2 separate regions of the Homo sapiens genome follow, and region 1 is linked to region 2. Evidence: promoter capture Hi-C in 16 types of primary human blood cells and fetal thymus (Javierre and others, 2016). All regions are on one chromosome and are shown on one strand. The core of a region is centred on a gene start or on the middle of the fragment in contact, and the rest is flanking DNA. Distances in the headings are between cores, read along the strand shown. Region 1 holds the start of APOD (apolipoprotein D). Region 2 holds the start of MUC4 (mucin 4, cell surface associated).

Region 1 (3,396 bases), core at 102-2,601, 230 kb after region 2:
ACAAGAGTCAAAGTTGTTCATTCCACCAGGAGAGATAAGGCTGGACCAAAAGCACCCCTGGGTTTAAGTCCACACTCCCCACCACCCCGGCCCCCACCCCCAAGCAGTGACAGACTGTCTTGAACTTCTCGCTGCAAGGGTCATAAAAGGGACAGAGAACAGAGCGACAGAAGATGTCTTCTGCATTCTCAACTTTTAGCCCCAGTTGTTAGAGAACTGGTATCTCCCCTACACGTCTGGCTCTGGTGGAGAAAGAATGACAGCCCCTACTTACAACGAGGAGACTGTGGCTCAGAGAAGTTAGGGGGCTGCCCAGGATCCTGGAGAAAGCCAGCTTTGACTCATAACCCTCGCGCCATTACCTGACTCCCATTAGTGGAGTCAGGAACTCCATGTTCCACTTCAGGAAATGAGCTTGTTGATTTTTCATTTACACAAAAATGAAAAATAAATACCAGATGTTTGAAAACATGTTGCAACACGTCCTGCTGGAACTTAAAAGTGCATTCTGACCAAAAAAATTAAATTAGAAAATCCACATAGCAAAAAAAAAAATGTTTTGGATGAAAATATACTTTATCTTTCTCTCACACATACTCTCTCTCTCTCTCGCACACATACCCACACACACACACACACACACACACGCGCGCGCGAAAACAATATCTCATTTCTTCTTCAGGGAGCAGCTGTGAAGGAAATCGGGGGAGGAGGATGGACACAACATCCCATCTTTGTGTTTCGATACAGACTAAGCTTTTAGGCCAACCCTCCTGACTGGATGGGGGCGGCGGGCGTGGCATGCATGAAAAGTAAACATCAGAGACCTGAAGAAGCTTATAAAATAGCTTGGGAGAGGCCAGTCACCAAGACAGGCATCTCAAATCGGCTGATTCTGCATCTGGAAACTGCCTTCATCTTGAAAGAAAAGGTATGTACTGTAGTTTTAAGCTTTTCATTTATGATAATAATGTCTAAAATAGAAACAGTCTAGACTCTCCATTGCCCCATTTCAGCTACATATAACTACCACTGATTGAGAGCTTGTGCCGGTAGCTTTAGACTTGTTCTCATTTTTCCTCAAACAAATGTACAAGGTAGGTATCATCAGAGCCATTTTTCCAGTGATAAAGCTGAGGTTCAGATACACTAGCAACATGCCTAAGATAAAACCAAACCCAGTGTGAACTCATCCCAGCGTCTTTTGCTTACCCCTCCAAACTGGACAACGAGGTGTTTCCATGCACAAACACCGTCCTAGGTGAATTCTCAGCAAGCTGTCCAACGGTGCATCGCAGTAAAATAATCTGGAAACTGGAATTAATGGTGTGACTAGAAAATGCATTTGACAATATGGCATAAAATATTGTGTTTGGGAGATACGTGTCTTGTTATATTTAATGGCTAAATGAGTCTTTGAGACCTAATGACTTATTGGAACCTATTTTATTTTATGAGGTGAAATTTCAAAATCTAGTCCTTCACGTTCTGCAGATCTTTGAGGTCAGGGGCTGTGTCCCCAGGCACTAAGAGCGCGGGCTTGTGGGAGACCTAGGCTTACATTCTAGCCTGTCCCCAGGCCTAGGCTTACACTGTGGCTTCGTAGTTTACCAGGAAGTAACCCGGGCAAATTCACCTCGTTGGTATGAAGAGAGTGTCAGCAGAGGTCGCCTCCAGAGGAGGTGCTGTGGAGACTGAGCGCATAGCACCCTTAAAATCCTGGGACCAGGGCTTCTCCACGGGTAAGCTTAATGCAAGTGGAGCAGTGATTTCCAGCTAGTGCCAGGCCCAAGGTGGATGCACTGTCACCTTAGTTGGATTGCTTTTTAATTACCTCATATTCTGTTAAAAATCATATTTCTTTTTTTTTTTTTTTGAGACGGAGTCTCACTCTGTCACCCAGGCTGGAGTGCAGTGGCGCGATCTCGGCTCACTACAGCCTCCGCCTCCCAGGTTCAAGCCATTCTTGTGCCTCAGCCTCCCAAGTAGCTGGGATTACAGGACTGCACCACCATGCCCAGCTAATTTTTGTATTTTTTGTTTGTTTGTTTTTGTTTTGTTTTTTTGAGATGGAGTTTTTGCTCTGTTGCCCAAGCTAGAGTGCAATGGTGTGATCTTGGCTTACTGCAACCTCTGCCTCCCATGTTCAAGCAATTATCCTGCATCAGCCTCCCGAGTAGCTGTGATTACAGGTACTTGCCACCACACCTGGCTAATTTTTTGTATTTTTAGTAGAGACGGGGTTTCGCCATGTTGGCCAGGCTGGTCTCAAACTCCTAACCTCAAGTGATCTGCCCACCTCGGCCTCCCAAAGTGTTGGGATTACAGGCATTAGCCATCATGCCCGGCCAAAAATAATATTTAAATTATACTTATTTTGTAAAGTATTTAAACTCCTCATAAGAACAATCTTCCTATTGATATCAGAAGAAGATGCAAAAATATATGTCGTATATAATCCATATGTTACCCAAAGTCTTAAGTACACATTAATAACATGCTCAATAAGTAATGAGTAAATTAGAATGAAAGGACATTGAAAACTATAATGGATGCTGTCCGCCCTTTCTCTCACAAGGAGTTTTTTTGTTGTTGTTGTTTGTTTGCTTGTTTTGAGACGGAGTTTTGCTCTTGTTGCCCAGGCTGGAGTGCAATGATGCAATCTCAGCTCACCACAACCTCCACCTCCCGGGTTCAAGCAATTCTCCTGCCTCAGCCTCCCGATTACAGGCATGCATGTAATTACAGGCAGCATGGGATTACAGGCATGCACCACCATGCCCAGCTAATTTTTTTATTTTTAGTAGAGATAGGGTTTCTCCATGTTGGTCAGGCTGGTCTTGAACTCCCAACCTCAGGTGCTCCACCTGCCTCGGCCTCCCATGGGATTACAGGCTTGAGCCACCGCACCTGGCATCACAAGGAGTTTTAACCACAGGAATAAAACTAATGTAACCAAGAGGCATCTTTGGAAGAGGGTCAGTCAAAGGGGTTGTTCTGAAATCCTCCTACTGAGGTAAAGAATCTGTTTCAGCTCACAAGAGAGCATTTTGTCAGAGTAAGATGTAGAACTGACTTTTGTTGCAGTGTCATGTGGTGGTGAGACTCATCAGGTCACAGAGGTGGGGGGTTATTGAAAGGCCCTATGGCGGTGCACAGAAGAAGCAGATTCGGGGTGCTGCAGACAGGAGAGGGGGAGATGGAGCTCGAGTCCCAGCTCTCTGCCCCTTCCAGGCCCCAGCTTCCCCATCTGTACACCTTGGAAGTAGAGCTAGAAAGATGACCTCTAAGGTCCTATCCAGTGTGGGGACCTTGTGGAATGTGCATAGTGTGTGGCCAGTCTTTGAGGTTTGATCCTCTGGGCCAGGCTTTCAGCTTGGGCCTACTAAGTAGAAT
Region 2 (3,445 bases), core at 134-2,633:
TTATTATGGCGTGGCCCAGGCTTTGGCCTGGGGCCATGAACAGACTTTCAGCTTCTAGAAGCAAGTGGTCACAGGGCCTCCGTGACCCTCGGAGACAGCGCCACAGCGTCGGTTGCCTACTCCTTGCTGGACAAGGCTGGCTCTGCTTGGGAATGCAGAAACCCTGAGTCCTTGTCCTGGGCCCCACAGTGTCTGAGCATCGAAGGTCCCTGCTCTGGGACGAGTCACCCCACAGACACCCCACATTCGGGAATCAAGTCTTGAGGAATCAGAAGCAGAGATTCACACTGTGGCAAAGAGGGGAGCGGAGGTATCCCCGTTTTCCTTTGCAGAGAGCTACACCAACTGCCCTCTTCGTCTTTACAACCCTACTTGGGGTCCCTTTCCCTCCTCGCTTGTGCCTGTGAGTTCCAAGAGGTGGAACTGGGGTGAGCAGAGCCCCCAGGTCTCCAGGAGCAGCTCCACCTCCTCACAGGTTACAGTCGCTTCCTCCTACCGAGGTTCTGCCTTCAACCCACTGCCCATGCCAGCTCCCTCAGGCCAGTCTCCCAGACTGTCCCTGGCTCCCTGCACCCTGGCTCCAGCTCCCTGCCCTGGAAAGAAGAAGTCCACCATCTGGTGAGGGTCTGCCACGCATCTGGGGTCTGCCATGCGTCTGCACTGAGGTTCTGCCACGAGTCTGCACTGAGGTTCTGCCATGCGTCTGGAGTCTGCCACGCGTCTGGGGTCTGCCACGCGTCTGGAGTCTGCCATGGGTCTGGGGTCTGCCATGTGTCTGGGATCTGCCGTGCGTCTGGGGTCTGCCACGCATCTGCACTGAGGTTCTGCCACGCGTCTGGGGTCTGCCACGCGTCTGGGGTCTGCCACGCGTCTGGGGTCTGCCACGCGCCTGCACTGAGCAGATATTCCAAGCACACCACCCCTTTCCAAAAGACGGCATACAGTGCATTTCTGTTCCTGCCCCTCACCCACATGGTTCCCCGCTTCCCAATTCCTTGGGGTCTGCTTAAGTCTCACTCTCTTTCCCCCATTCATACAGCCCCAAGGTCGCTCCCTCTGGGGCCCTTTCTTCCCCATTCTTCCCAGCAGCCCAAAGCTCTGGTGGGACAGGGGCAGCCCCTGGGGAGGGAGGAGAGGACCCAGGAACCCGGCTAGGAGGGTGGCCCACCCATTTCCAGTGTGACCTGTTCCCATTCCCCCATGTCTCCTCCCATCCCTCCCGCCACTCAGCTCAGGCTGATGAGAAGCAGAGCAACGGGTGTATCGGTGTTTTCTTTCCTGGTGGGGTAGTGGGGTGGGGCTGAGGAGAGAAAAGGGTGATTAGCGTGGGGCCCCGCCCTCTTTTGTCCTCTTCCCAGGTTCCCTGGCCCCTTCGGAGAAACGCACTTGGTTCGGGCCAGCCGCCTGAGGGGACGGGCTCACGTCTGCTCCTCACACTGCAGCTGCTGGGCCGTGGAGCTTCCCCAGGGAGCCAGGGGGACTTTTGCCGCAGCCATGAAGGGGGCACGCTGGAGGAGGGTCCCCTGGGTGTCCCTGAGCTGCCTGTGTCTCTGCCTCCTTCCGCATGTGGTCCCAGGTAAGTGATGGAGACAGCAGATGAGGCTGGCTGCGGGGAGCACTTGGGGGAGGTGGGAGCTGTCAGAGAAAGAGGTCCGGGGAGACAGAGAGAGAGAGAGAGAGAATAGGGGAAAGGGAGACAGCGAAGAGGAAGAGAAGGGAGAGAAAAAGAGGGAGAGGGAAAGGAGAAAGAGATGAATGGGACAACATGGGGGGAAGGTGGAGAGAGACCCAGAGAGGGAAAGAAGAGGAAGAGAAGAGGGAGAGAGAAAGAAGAGTGGAGGCCGTGCGCGGTGGCTCATGCCTGTAATCCCAGCACTTTCGGAGGCCAAGGCAGGAGATCACCTGAGGTCAGGAGTTCGAGACCAGCCTGGCCGACATGGTGAAACCCCGTCTCTACTAAATATACAAAAATTAGCCGGTCGTGGTGGGCCCCACCTGTAATTCCAGCTACTCAGGAGTCTGAGGCAGGAGAATCACTTGAACCTGGGAGGTGGAGGTTGCAGTGAGCCAAGATCGCGCCACTGCACTCCAGCCTGGGAGAGAGAGCGAGACTCTGTCTCAAAATAAATAAATAAATAAATAAATAAATAAATAAATAAATAAATATAAAATAAAATAAAAAATAAGAAGAGGAGAAAAGTGGGGAAGAGGAGGCATGAACTGGCAGATACGGGACAAGATCTGAGGGGAAAGACAGAGGGAGAATGCTCGAAAGAGAGAGAAAAGAGAACAGAGGGCCAGAGAGCAGCCCGGCGATGTCTGGAAGGATCCATGGTGAGAGCCCAGGCTTACTCGCAGAGAGAAAGACAGGCAGAGCCAGAGCAAGAGGAACAGAGTCAAGGAGAAAGATGTACACCCTTGTGTACAGAGCTGGGGGTAGAGGGGATGCCAGGAAAGCTGGGTGATGGAGACGGAAGAAAACTCATGTAAAGCTGCAGGGTGAGAGGACGAGACAGGTGAGACGCAGACAAACTGAGGACCCTGGGAATGGAGAGAGGAGAAGATCGGGAGACAGCAGCAAGCAAGGGAAGCGACAAGGAGGAGAGGGGCAGGCCGGCCGGGAGGGTGGTGCGGAGGAGGCGGCCAGGGCGCAGAGGGCCGGGAGGTGCTGGCCGTGGGCTTCTTACCTCTGAGCTCGGGTTTAAAAGCCTCCATTTGGGTCACGGCCTTGCCTGGGGCTCGTAGCCCCGGCATTGGCCTTGGGCTCCTCCGTGTACAGAGCTGGGAGGGGAGGGATGCCAGGCCTGTGGGAGATGTTCCCTCGGGGGCCCCCGTCCTCTTCCCCACACTTTCCAGGCTGTCCCTCTGGCTTCAGGACCAAGTTTTATTCTGTGTTTCTGGGTGTCTGAGTCTTTGGGGGAGAGTCTGGGGTCCAGAGTTCAAGCTGGGGTTAGAGTCTCAGCTCCTGCCCTGCCTCTCAGCAGGCTAAGAACAGTCGCCGAGGGAAAATATTTCTTGGGCGCATATTTGAGGAGCTTCCTGGGAGTGAGTCAGAAGGCGAGTGCCGTTTAAAGGCTGCAAGAGAAGCCATGCTGGTGAAGCGGACCCTTCCACCTCGGGATGTTTCAGGACTAGGCTGAGGGCAAAGGAAACTGCCACCACCTCCCTACACCTCCCCACCCTCCAGCACCCCCACCCCACCCTGGCCACACAACCCCGCTCCAGTGCTCATCCCACCGTGAGGACGTGGAGGCCGGAAGGAGCCGCCACACGGCCCTGCCCTGCAGATGTGGTTGAAGGAGTCTCCACGGGAATCATGACTCCCAGAGCGAGGCTGGGGCTTGGGGCGCCGGGGAGGCAGCTTGGATTTAGGAGCCCCAGGGCCAAGTCTTTGCCGTGAACTGTTCTGGCCCCTGTGACCAGGCCCTGCCCCGTGTCTCCCCAG

What was found. Contacts are between HindIII fragments. The CHiCAGO score rates a contact against its expected background, and 5 or more counts as called.
Region 1: a contact is called between a fragment that was not itself captured here and the fragment with the promoter of MUC4 in region 2, in 1 of 17 cell types (M0 macrophages). The highest score is 5.4, in M0 macrophages.

What each region holds. Positions count from the first base shown.
Region 1 is chr3:195,581,413-195,584,808 of GRCh38, reverse strand. It overlaps APOD (apolipoprotein D), which reads left to right and starts at 869. Exons shown (of 5, transcript NM_001647.4): 1 at 869-931. RefSeq lists an enhancer at 1,249-1,418. The HindIII fragment of the contact is 796 bases long and covers 954-1,749 here.
Region 2 is chr3:195,809,867-195,813,311 of GRCh38, reverse strand. It overlaps MUC4 (mucin 4, cell surface associated), which reads left to right and starts at 1,383. Exons shown (of 25, transcript NM_018406.7): 1 at 1,383-1,576. The coding sequence starts at 1,495. RefSeq lists an enhancer at 3,123-3,445. The HindIII fragment of the contact is 16,144 bases long and covers 1-3,445 here.